Regions from separate parts of the Homo sapiens genome. Here regions 1 and 2 are each linked to region 3. Evidence: promoter capture Hi-C in human tissues and cell types (Jung and others, 2019). All regions are on one chromosome and are shown on one strand. The core of a region is centred on a gene start or on the middle of the fragment in contact, and the rest is flanking DNA. Distances in the headings are between cores, read along the strand shown.

Region 1 (3,573 bases), core at 1,074-3,573, 440 kb before region 3:
AAAGCTATAAGACCCCCTAGGCATGAAGCGGGGGCCAAGCATCCACTGAACAAATAAATCCTGCTCTATTCTGGGTCCACCAGCCCCTGCTCACCCAGAGGGGACAACCGTGTTGGGGAGACAGAGCTTCGGATGGGACACCCCCAGCCCTGCGTGTCAGGCGCCTTGAGAAGACCTGGGCTCTGCTCAGCCTCCTGTGACCTTGGGCAAGTTTGGGGTCCTTTCTCTGTGCCTCAGTTTTCTTTTTTTCTTTTCTTTTCTTTCTTTTTGTCTGGTGAGGGGACGGAGTCTCTGTCCCCAGGCTGGTGTGCAGCGGCACCATCTCGGCTCACTGCAATCTCCACCTCCTGGGTTCAAGTGATTCTCCTGCCTCAGCCTCCCGAGTAGCTGGGATTATAGGCATGCACCACCACATCTGGCTAATTTTTGTATTTTTAGTAGAGACAGAGTTTCACCATATTGGGCAGGCTGGTCTCGAACTCTTGACCTCAAGTGATCCACCTGCCCCATCTTCCCAAAGTGCTTGCATTACAGGCATGAGCCACTGCACCTGGCCTGTGTGCCTCAGTTTTCTCATTTGTACAGTAATAGAAACAACAAAATTCTGAACATTTCTGGTCTTGGAAGATGCCCGCTGTCTTCCCCCCTGCCCCCCAGAAAAGGCAGGATTATTACTTTTCAGTTGATCTATTTCATCTCTTTAAACTGGTTAAGACAATAGCGAAGACTTGGCCGTGTGTGGTGCCTCACACCTGTAATCCCAGCATTTTGGAAGGCCGAGTAGGGAGAACCACTTGAGTTCTAGATGAGCCTGGGCAACATAGCAAGACCCCTGCCTCTACAATTAAAAAATTAAAAATGGCCGGGCGCGTTGGTGCACGCCTGTAATCCCAGCACTTTGGGAGGCCGAGGCGGGTGGATCACTTGAGGTCAGGAGTTTGAGATCAGCCTGGCCAACATGGTGAAACCCCGTCTCTGCTAAAAAATACAAAAATTAGCCAGGCTTGGTGGTGGGCACCTGTAATCCCAGCTACTCAGGAGGCTGAGGCAGGAGAATCGCTTGAACCCAGGAAGCAAAGGTTGCAGTGAGTCGAGATCGCACCACTGTACTCCAGCCTGGGTGACAGAGTAAGACTCTGTCTAAAAAGATAAAAATAAAAATTAAAAAATTAAAAATTAGCTGGGCATTGTATTGCAGGCCTGTAGTCCCAGCTACTCAGGAGGCAGAGGCTGAAGGATCGCTTGAGCCCAGGGGAATGAGGTTACAGTGAGCTATGATCCTGCCATTACAGGCCAACCCAGAGAGATCCTATGTCAAAAATGAATAAATACCCTGGTGTGGTCGCTCTCGCCTGTGATCCCAGGACTTTGGGAGGCTGAGGCGGGAAGATGACTTGAGTCCAGGAGTTTGAGACCAGCCTGGGCAACATGGCAAAACCCCATCTCTACAAAAAAAATACAAAAAATTAGCCGGGTGTGGTGGCGTGGGCCTGTAGTCCCAGCTACTCAGGAGGCTGAGGTGGGAGAATTGCTTGAGTCAGGGATAGGGAGGTGGCAGTGAGCCCATATCGTGCCACTGCACTCCAGCCAGGGTAACAGAGCAAGAACTCATCTCAAAAATAAAAAATAAAAATAGGTGGCTGGGCGTGGTGGCTTACACCTGTAATCCCAGCTACTTGGGAGGCTGAGGTGGGAGAATCACTTGAACCCAGGAGGTGGAGGTTGCAGTGAGCCGAGATCGCATCACTGCACTCCAGCCTGGAAGACAGAGCAAGACTTTGTCTCAATAATAATAATAAAAATAATAATAGTCCAGGCACAGCTCATGCCTGTAATCCCAGCATTTTGGGAGGCCGAGGCAGATGGATCGCTTGAGGTCAGGAGTTGGAGACCAGCCTGGCCAACATGGCGAACCCCAGTCTCTACTAAAAATAAAAAATAAAAAAAAAAAAATTAGCCAGGCATAGTGGTGCGCACCTGTAATCCCAGCTACTCAGGAGGCTGAGGCAGGAGAATCGCTTGAACCCGGGTGTCAGAAGTTGCAGTGAGCCGAGATCAAGTCACTGCACTCCAACCTGGGTGACAGAGTGAGACTCCATCTCAAAAAAAAAGAAGAAAAAAATAAAAAAGAAAGACTCGTTGCCCAGTGCTCCCTCTGGGAGAAGTACATCCAAGGCCCTGGCCCTGGGAGAAAGGCTCTGGCACTAACCCCACCCTTGACCTTTTTCCTGGGCGGTCCTGAAGAATGTTCTGTCCCTTCTCCAAGGCCCCCAGCTGGGACGGCCCAGGCGCCTATAAAGGGGGTCCCCGCTTGGCCCCGGCGCCACCCACCACCATGGACCCCCGTCTGCCCGCCTGGGCGCTGGTGCTGCTGGGCCCTGCCCTGGTGTTCGCGTTGGGCCCCGCGCCCACCCCAGAGATGCGTGAGAAGTTGTGCGGCCACCACTTCGTACGCGCGCTAGTGCGCGTGTGCGGGGGCCCCCGCTGGTCCACCGAAGCCAGGAGGCCTGCGACCGGAGGCGACCGTGAGTGGGGACGGGCAGGGACAGCGCTCTGGGAAGCCGAGGTGGGGCAGGTGCACGTAGGCGCAGATGCACACGTGCAGGGAGGTGGGCAGGTTTGCATGCATGTGCCCAGGGCTCACCTGCCGGCTGCGTGCACAGATCGTGGGTCCGCACTGGAGTGTGTGTGAACGCGCGTGTGAAAGTCCCCAGAGCCGTTAGCCAGGCGTGGTGGCTCACGCCTGCAATCCCAGCACTTTGGGAGGCTGAGGCGGGTGGATCCCCAGAGGTCAGGAGTTCGAGACCAGCCTGGCCAAAATGGTGAAACCCCATCTCTACTAAAAATAATTTTTAAAAAAATTAGCCGGGGATAATGATGCACATCTGTAATCCCAGCTACTTGGGAGGCCAAGGCAGGAGAATCGCTTGAACCCGGAAGGCAGAGGTTGCAGTGGGCCGATATCATGCCATTGCACTCCAGCCTGGGCGACAGAGTGAAACTCCGTCTCAAAAAAAAAAAAAAAAGAAAGTCCTCAGAGCATGAGTCCCCCTGAGGGGCCAGAAACAGAGTGAGGCAGGAGAGGTAGGCTCTTGCAAGTACATGGTGAGATCCTGTCTTAAAATTTCAATATTTTGATCTTCATGAATTTTTGCCTTAATTTTGCTTTGTTTGTTTGTTTTTTGAGACAGGGTCTCACTCTGACGCCCAGGCTGGAGTGCAGTGGTGAGATCTCGGCTCACTGCAGGCTCAACCTCCTGGGCTCAAACCATCCTCCTGCCTCAGCCTCTGGAGTGGCTGGGATACAGGTGCTGCCACCACACCCAGCTAATTTTTTTTTCTTTTTCGTAGAGAGGGAGTCTCACTCTGTTTCCCAGGCTGGTCTCAAACTCCTGAGCTCAAGTAATCCTCCCACCTTGACCTTCCAAAGTGTTGGGATTAGCGATGTGAGTCACTGTGTCCAGCTTTAAAAGTATTTAAAAGTATTGCTTTTGAAAAGTATTGCTTTTCACAATTATGTTACTTTATTTTATTATTTTATTTTTATTTATTTATTTTGAGACATAGCCTCGC
Region 2 (4,131 bases), core at 450-2,949, 340 kb before region 3:
CACGGCTTGCATTTGAAAGGTCTCAACTGTATTATTACTGTTGTTATTTATAGCTGCATCCCACCCCCCATGCCTGGCACACGGCTGGCACTTCCCCAAATAACAAGAGGTAGGGAGCAGTCAGGGGGACCCCAGCCTCACCTTTCACAATGCTGGAGAAGGTGGCAGAGTGTCGGGACACAAAGACCTTGAGCTGTTCATCAAGGTTGCAGACGCCAGGATCGACATCCCAAGACCGGATGCCTGGTGGGAAGGAGGGATCAAGGCGGGAGTTCAGCCGGGCCCCCCAGCTCCCAGAATATTTCAATAATTAGCACCCCGTGGGTGGGGAGCGCCCCAGCCTCCTCCCTTCACTCACAGCTTGGAGACTCAGAAGTACCCAACACCTTCAGGTCTCGCTGCAGCTGAGCCAGGGGACCCAGAGCACACCTCATCATTTTACACACAAGATTCATCAGCAACAAAGCCTCCACCTCCTCCATCTCCACCTCCTCGCTGCTCCTATGCCCTGCCAGACCCGTTTCCACTCACCGCCCTTGCAACAGCTGTTTCCCCTGCCTGGAAGTCCATCCCCCTGCCGCCCCCACCTGTTCCTACTGGCCAGGGGGCCCTTCCCCCTCAGCACCTTCGGGTGCTAAGACTGACTGTCCTCTCAGTCCCTTGCAGCCTTCTCATCCTTCCTGACACCATGTGAGCTGGAAGCTTGTTCCATCTCCTCACTCGCTTTGGGTCCATCCCCAAACCAGACCTGTGTTGGCAGGGCTGAACCTGTCTATCATCCCGGCCATATCCCTGTGTCCACTGCCCAAAGGCCTGGCGCATAGCAGGTGCTCACTAAACACTCCTCAAGCACATGAACCGAGGTGCGTGTTCCTGTCCCATTTTACATGCAATGAAACGCCAGGTCCAGATGCTCCGAGGGATGGGGGATGAACACCCATCTCCACCCACGGGCGCATCACGCCCGCCAGTCCCACTGAGCCAAGTGGCTGCAGGTGAACCTGGCAGGTGCGCCTATGACTCACCTCCCTAGGTGCCAAATCCCCAGGGCAGGCCGCACCCGCCCACACCCCAATTAGCAGCTCCTTGTGAGGCAACAGAAAGCGGGCCCCGGGGCTCCAGGCCCAGCCTCCCCCATATCTGCTTCTCCCTCCGGGAGATCTCTATCTAAGCTGCTAAGACCTGGAGATCCAAAGCGACCCCAGGCCCTACCCCCGGGCAGGCCAGTCAGGCGGGAAGCGGAGCCGTGGTCCAACTGCAAGGGTCCCCAAGCCCAGGCCCGTGTCCCCTCCCCTATCTTCACCCGGAGTTGGGGCGGGGCAGCCCTGCCCAGCCCAGGCCCGGATGCCACTTTCTCCGCGGGCACCCACGGGCACCCCGCCTTTGCCCGCGTCGTGCGCCTAACGGTGAAGGGGACCCAGCCCCAGGCCCGCGACCCCCGCCCCGGAGCCCGGGTCCCGCCGCCGCCGCCGCCGCCGCCCCACCCCGCCGGCCCCGGGCCCAGACGCGCGAACGGGCCCGCCTCCCGGGCTCCCGCGGGCCCCCAGGCCAGCCCGACCTCTTTCGAGCTCCTCCAGGACGTAGGTGAGGAGCCCCGGGCTCCCGAACTCGCTGCCCACCACGAGGAGCAGTGAGCTCGGAGCCGCGGCAGCCCCAGATCCAGCCACCGCCGCCATCTTCGGGCCGCCCCGGCGTTCTCGGCGCCCGCCCCGCAGGCCCCGCCTCTTAAAGGGGCCGCACCGGAAGGGCTGAAGACCCCGCCCGGAACCACCGCATCCCCGCCCCTTTTTGTCGACCACTTACAGGCCCTTTGAGGTCGTGGAGAGCAGGGGATGCGGGCGTTAAAGGGGTTGGCCGACTCCTGGGTGTCCGCTTGGGAGCCGCCTCTCCCAAGTGACCATTCATTCATTTTTTTTTTCATTGAACAAGCTTTGATTGCGTGCCTGCTGCATGTAGGTCAGAACTCCTGCCCTCCAGGAACTCACATCACATGACAGTAGGCCGCATCAGAACCCGGTGCCTATGGATGCTCCCAGCTCTCTAGGTCAGGGCTTGAACAGAGAAAAGAAATCTATCTTGTAGGTAGGGCTTTAAGGGATGTGTAGGAGTTTGCCTTGTGGGTGGTGGGGCAAGAGCTGGTGAGGCAGAAGTTTACAGCAGGTGCAAAGTTTTAGAGGTAAGAAAGTACATGTGTGTTTGGGACACAACCGGAGCACTCTGGGCCTGCCTGGAACAGGGCAACACTTATTCTGCACCTCCTGTGCGCCAGGTATTTTATTGCATTAGCTCATTACATACAAGCACAAAGCGATGAGTTTTGTGCTTGTATGTAGGCACAGATGAGTAGGCACAGTTACTGTGGTCACTTTCAGAGGAAAGAAGAGGAAACTGAGATTTGGAGGGATGAAGTCACCAGGCCTGTAAGTGGTAGAGCAGGTTTGAACCCAAGTGGGTCTTACTCTAGATCCAGCCTGTGCAAGGGACTGCCTGCGTTGCGCACATGGGTACCTCTCTCTCCCCAGATAATCCTCTTTAGGCTTTTCTTTCCTTTCCTCCCCTCTCTTCTCCTCTCCTCCCCTCCCCTCCTCTCCTCTTCTCCCCTCCCCTCCCCTTCTCTCCCCTCTCCTCTCCTCTCCTCCCCTCCCCTCCCTTCCTCTCCCTCCCCTCCCCTCCCCTCCTCTCCCCTCTCCTCTCCTCTCCTTTCCTTTTCTTGAGATGGAGTCTCATTCTGCCGCCCAGGCTGGAGTGCAATGGCACAATCTCAGCTCACTGCAACCTCTGCCTCCCGGGTTCAAGCGATTCCCTTGCCTCAGCCTCCCAAGTAGCGGGATTATAGGTGTCCGCCACCATGCCCTGCTAATTTTTGTATTTTAGTAGAGATGAGGTTTCTTTTCTTTTCTTTTCTTTTCTTTTCTTTTCTTTTCTTTTCTTTTCTTTTCTTTTAGAGACAGAGTCTCGCTCTGTCGCCCAGGCTGAAGGGTAGTGGCGCGATCTCGGCTCACTGCAAGCTCCACCTCCCAGGTTCATGCCATTCTCCTGCCTCAGCCTCCCGAGTAGCTGGGACTACAGGCGCCCGCCACTGTGCCCAGCTAATTTTTTGTATTTTCAGTAGAGACGGGGTTTCACCGTGGTCTCGATCTCCTGACCTCGTGATCTGCCTGCCTCGGCCTCCCAAAGTGCTGGGATTACAGGCGTGAGCCACCGTGCCCGGCAGAGATGGGGTTTCACCATGTTGGCCAGGCTGGTCTCGAACTCCTGACCTCAAGTGATCCTCCTGCCTTGGCCTCCCAAAGTGCTGGGATTACAGGCGTGAGCCGCCGCGCCTGGCCCCCTTTAGCCCTTTGACCCATAGGGGCTACTACTTGACAAATCATCTTGCTTGGAACTTCTGGACAGTGGTCCATGCCCAGGAAACATTGAACCTCCTTTCTCAGGAGTGAGCTCCCTGTCTCCGGGAGTATGCAAAGAAAAGCAGAACAGAAATGGGAAAGATCTGGGAAGGCGAATCAGCCTCCCGCTGCCGTTTATTATCTAGGTTGTTCAGCCCAACTTCCTCCCTGGCCAGTGTGTAACAGCCACTGGCCACGTGCCGTCTACCATTCTTGCACTCCACTTCCTCTCTCTCTTTTTGGTTCTGGCATCCTTCCTCTATCCTTGTCCCTCCCCCTTGGCTCCCTTCCCTGTGTCTCGCCTGCCTGTGATTTCTTCTGTTATTGCTGTGAGCAGTAATAGTAGTGGGAGTGTCTGTGTCGGGCACTATCTCCCCTATAAGGCTGGAAACTTTTGGAAGCCTGAGGCCTCTCTGGGGCCCTGGCCTTGTGCAACACAAGGCTTGGGCATCTGAGAAGGGATATGATAAAGTCTTTTGGAATGGGCTGAAAGGCCTATTTGTCCACTATTCCTTCCTTCCTTCCTTCCTTGTGTATTTATGGATGGGTCCAGGATTCGAACCCAGGAGCTTCTGAATGGAAGTCTATCCACTTCCTTCTGCCCACGCTGTGAATTATGATTGTTGGTACTAATTCTTTTTTTTCTTTCTTTTTTTTTTTTTTGAGACGGATTCTCACTCTGTCGCCCTTGCCAGAATCATTCTGAGAGAGAGAGAGAGAGTCTTGTTCTGTCAAGCAGGCT
Region 3 (4,524 bases), core at 407-2,906:
CTGATCCTGGGAGATAGGCAGGACACACAGAATCCTTTGCTTCCGGGTCCCCAAATCCCCTCCAGGCCCAACTGGGGGGTGACCCACAGCGACCCCAGAAAACTCCCGTGGTTTTTTTGGTTTGTTTGTTTTTGTTTTTGAGACAGAGTTTCTCTCTTATCTCCCAGGATGGAGTGCAGTGGCCCGATCTCGCTTCACTGCAACCTCCGCCTCCCGGGTTCAAGTGGTTCTCCTGCCTCAGCTTCCCAAGCAGCTGGGATTACAGGTGCTCGCCACCACACACGGCTAATTTTTGTATTTTTAGTGGAGATGGGGTTTCACCATATTGGCCAGGCTGGTCTCGCACTCCTGACCTCAGGTGATCCGCCTGCCTCAGCCTCACAAAGTGCTGAGATTACAGGTGTGAGCCACTATGCCCGGCCGCCCATGGGGTTTTGAGTGTCGGGGGAGGAATCTCAGTCCCACGTATCCACCACTTGTCATTCACCATCTCACGGAGCCCCCAGCAGTGCCTCCAGCAGGAAATGATCCTAATCATAACAACAGCCACAGAGTGACGAGGCACTGGGTATACCCCGTCTCACAAAGGGGAAAAGGGAGGCACAGACATGCGAGGCCTCTTGCCCGAGCTCTCCCGGGACAAAGCCAGCTCTTCCCCGCTCCAAGTTCATTATTCCTTGTGCTGCAGTTTCCTGGAGCATTTACTGAGCATCTAAGTGAACAGGGCACTGGGGGCAATGACAGAGCTTGGGGAGCCAGCGCCACCGCCATCCATGGCTCAGCCCTCCGTGACGCCCTCCTATGCAATTACTAATCACCTACTGCTTCTCCATCCCTAGGCTAGCTAAGAGTTTCACACTTTTTCTGTTTTTTTTTTTTTTTGAAACAGAGTCTTGCTCTATACCCCAGGCTGGAGTGCAATGGCACGATCTCTGCTCACCGCAACCTCCGACTCCTGGGTTCAAGCGATTCTCCTGCCTCAGCCTCCTGGGTAGCTGGAATTACAGGCGAGCACCACCACACCTGGCTAAGTTTTGTATTTTTAGTAGAGACGGGGGGTTTCACCACGGTGACCGGGTTGGTCTCAAACTTCTGACCTCAGGTGATCCGTCCGCCTCAGCCTCCCAAAGTGCTGGGATTATAGGCGTGAGCCACCGTGCCTGGCACATTTCCCACGTTTTGTGGCACTTAATCAGCACCGCCCTGGTGAAGTGGGTGCACGTCTGTAGCCAGCCTGTCTTGAGGTAAGTCAAGTTCGCTGAACTAACAGCGTGAGACCCCGAGGCAACCCCTTCTCCTCCCTGTGCCTCAGTTTCCTCCGCCACACAAGGGAGACAGCAACAGACCTGGCATGATTCAGCGACCTAATCACAGCAGGTACTGAGAACAGCACCCGCCAGCAAGTAAAGGCGAACGCGAGGCTCGAAGAGGCCAGGAATGCCTGACCAGCCAGCCAGCGCCCCACCCAGCATTAATCAGAGGGGTCCAGCCGGTGCCCTGGCTCTGGGCCCCCAGCCCCACCCCCGCCTTCTCACAGCCAGAGTGGGAGTGTTGTGATAACCCGCAGCCCCCGTTTCCTCCGGGCCAGGAAGGAGCCAGGCAGAGGAAGTATTAAGAGGAGTAATATAAGCACTCCCCCCTGCGAGGCGGGGGCCAGAGCAGGCCTGGTGGTGAGCAGGGACGGTGCACCGGACGGCGGGATCGAGCAAATGGGTCTGGCCATGGAGCACGGAGGGTCCTACGCTCGGGCGGGGGGCAGCTCTCGGGGCTGCTGGTATTACCTGCGCTACTTCTTCCTCTTCGTCTCCCTCATCCAATTCCTCATCATCCTGGGGCTCGTGCTCTTCATGGTCTATGGCAACGTGCACGTGAGCACAGAGTCCAACCTGCAGGCCACCGAGCGCCGAGCCGAGGGCCTATACAGTCAGCTCCTAGGGCTCACGGCCTCCCAGTCCAACTTGACCAAGGAGCTCAACTTCACCACCCGCGCCAAGGATGCCATCATGCAGATGTGGCTGAATGCTCGCCGCGACCTGGACCGCATCAATGCCAGCTTCCGCCAGTGCCAGGGTGACCGGGTAAGGCTGTGGGCAGGACACTCGCCCTGGGGACCCTGAGCAAGCCCCCTCACCTCTCTGAGCCTGAGTTTCCTCATCCAAGAGAGGGGGACGATCACAGGACCAATGCTCTCTTTTCTTATGAGACAGAGTCTCGCTCCGTCTCCCAGGCTGGAGTGCAGTGGTGCAATCTCGGCTCACTGCAACCTCTGCCTCCTGGGTTGGAGTGATTCTCCTGCCTCAGCCTCCCGAGTAGCTGGGATTACAGGCATGTGCCATCATAACCGGCTCATTTTTGTATTTTTAGTAGAGATGGGGTTTCACCATGTTGGCCAGGCTGGTCTCAAACTCCTGACCTCAAGTGATACGCCTGCCTTGGCCTCCCAAATTGTTGGGATTACAAGCGTGAGCCACTGCACCCGGCCGATAGATTTTTTTTTTTTCCTTAAGAGACAGGGTCTCCATGTGTATCCTGGGCTGGATGGAGTGCAATTGCTATCACAGCTCACTGCAACCTCAATCTCCTGGACTCAAGTGATCCTCTTGCCTCAGCCTCCTGAGTAGCTGGGACTACAGGCGTGCACCACCACACCCAGCTAATATGTTTATATTTAGCAGAGATGAGGTCTCACTATGTTGCCCAGGCTAGTCTCGAACTCCTGGGCTCAAGCAATCCTCTCACCCCAGCCTCCCAAACTGCTGGGATTACAGGTGTGGGGCACTGCGTCCAGCTAAATTTTTTTTATTTCTTTTCTTTTTTTTGGAGGCAGGGTCTCACTCTGTCACCCAGGCTGGAGCACAGTGATGTGAGCATAGCTCACTGAAGCCTTGACATCCTGGGCTCCAGCAATCCTCCTGCCTCAGCCTTTTGAGTAGCTGGCACTATGGACATGCCACTATGCCCAGGTCATTTTTTATTTTTAGTAGACGTGGGGTCTCGCTATGTTGATCAGGCTGGTCTTGAACTCCTGGGCTCAAACAATCCTCCCTCCTGGACCTCCCAAAGTGCTGAGATTACAGGTGGGCACCACCACACCTGGCAATTTTTTTTTTTTTTTTTGAGACGGAGTCTCGCTCTGTCACCCAGGCTGAAGTGCAGTGGCACAATCTCGCCTCACTGCAACCTCCACCTCCCAGGTTCAAGTGATTCTCCTGCCTCAGCCTCCTGAGTAGCTGGGATTACAGGCGTGTGCAACCATGCCAGCTAATTTTTGTATTTTTAGTAGAGACGGGGTTTCACCATGTTTGCCAGGCTGGTCTCAAACTCCTGACCTCAAGTGAGCCACCCACCTCGGCCTCCCATAGTGCTGGGATTACAGGCATGAGCCACCGTGCCCTGACCTGGTGCCCTGGCTAACTTTTTTTTAGAGACAGAATCTCACTATGCTGCTGAGGCTGGTCTTGAACTCCTAGGCTCACCCTCCTAAAGTGCTGAGATTACAGGCATGAGCCACCATTCCCAGCCAGCAACATTTTTTTTAAACTGTAAGTATATTCCATGCAATATTTGAGATATAATTTTGAAAATAATATTCATTGTCTTTTTGGAATCCAAGTTTAATTCTCCTCCTGTGTGTTAATTGGCAGTCCTGAGCCCATAACTTACTATGCATGAAGCTCCCAGAATGTGCCAGCACTAATCAAAGGGGTCCAGCACACACAAGCTGCAAATAAGTGGCTGAAGACCGGCTACAGTAGCTCACACCTGTAATCCCAGCACTTTGGGAGACCGAGGCAGGAGGACCACCTGAGTCCAGGAATTTGAGACCAACCTGGGCAACATGGTGAAACCCTGTCTGTACAAAAAGTACAAAAATTAGGCCAGGCATACTGGCTAACACCTGTAATCCCAGCACTGTGAGAGGCCAAGGTGGGTGGATCACTTGAGGTCAGAAATTTGAGACCAGCCTGGCCAACCTAGTGAAACCCCGTCTGTACTAAAAATACAAAAATTATTAGCCGGGTATGGTGGTATGTGCCTGTAGTCCCAGCTACTCGGGAGGCTGAGGCAGGAGAATCACTTGAACCTGGGAGGCAGAGATTGCAGTGAGCCGAGATCTCACTACTGCACTCCAGCCTGGGCAACAGAGGGAGACTCTGTCTAAAAATAAATACATACATACATACATACATACATACATACAAAAATTAGTCAGGCATGGTGGCACATGCCAGTAGTCCCAGCTACTTGGGAGGCTGAGGTGGGAGGATCACTTGAGCCCAGGAGGTCAAGGCTGCAGTGAGCCAAGATAGTGCCACTGTACTCCAGCCTGGGCGACTGAGTGAGACCCTGAATGGAAAAAAAAAAACAAAAAAAGGATGGACTGAATAAAAGTTCACAGTGTTTTGTTCCTGTTCAATTCTAGCATGTATAAACAGTCCATATTTGCTGTATGCTGGGTGTTGAATTTAGAAATATTAACTCATTGCCAAATCCCGGGAAGTAGGGAGAAGCTTTTGTTGTTTT

The links. The method cuts DNA at HindIII sites, captures the fragments that hold promoters and counts their contacts. A contact is called where the count stands out against the background at its distance.
Region 1: a contact is called between the fragment with the promoter of INSL3 here and the fragment with the promoter of PLVAP in region 3, in 2 of the 25 tissues and cell types used here (IMR-90 fibroblasts and lymphoblastoid cells).
Region 2: a contact is called between the fragment with the promoter of MAP1S here and the fragment with the promoter of PLVAP in region 3, in 3 of the 25 tissues and cell types used here (IMR-90 fibroblasts, lymphoblastoid cells and thymus).

Annotation. Positions count from the first base shown.
Region 1 is chr19:17,820,269-17,823,841 of GRCh38, reverse strand. It overlaps INSL3 (insulin like 3), which reads left to right and starts at 2,323. Exons shown (of 2, transcript NM_005543.4): 1 at 2,323-2,525. The coding sequence starts at 2,336. The HindIII fragment of the contact is 21,957 bases long and covers 1-3,573 here.
Region 2 is chr19:17,717,048-17,721,178 of GRCh38, reverse strand. MAP1S (microtubule associated protein 1S) reads right to left here and starts at 1,699. Exons shown (of 7, transcript NM_018174.6): 1 at 1,559-1,699; 2 at 142-243. The coding sequence starts at 1,676. RefSeq lists enhancers at 508-657, 1,048-1,117, 3,168-3,669 and a silencer at 1,468-1,517. The HindIII fragment of the contact is 7,935 bases long and covers 1,317-4,131 here.
Region 3 is chr19:17,374,474-17,378,997 of GRCh38, reverse strand. PLVAP (plasmalemma vesicle associated protein) reads left to right here and starts at 1,656. Exons shown (of 6, transcript NM_031310.3): 1 at 1,656-2,078. The coding sequence starts at 1,710. It overlaps LOC105372298 (a long non-coding RNA gene), which reads left to right. Exons shown (of 3, transcript XR_936362.3): 3 at 168-208. The HindIII fragment of the contact is 34,336 bases long and covers 1-4,524 here.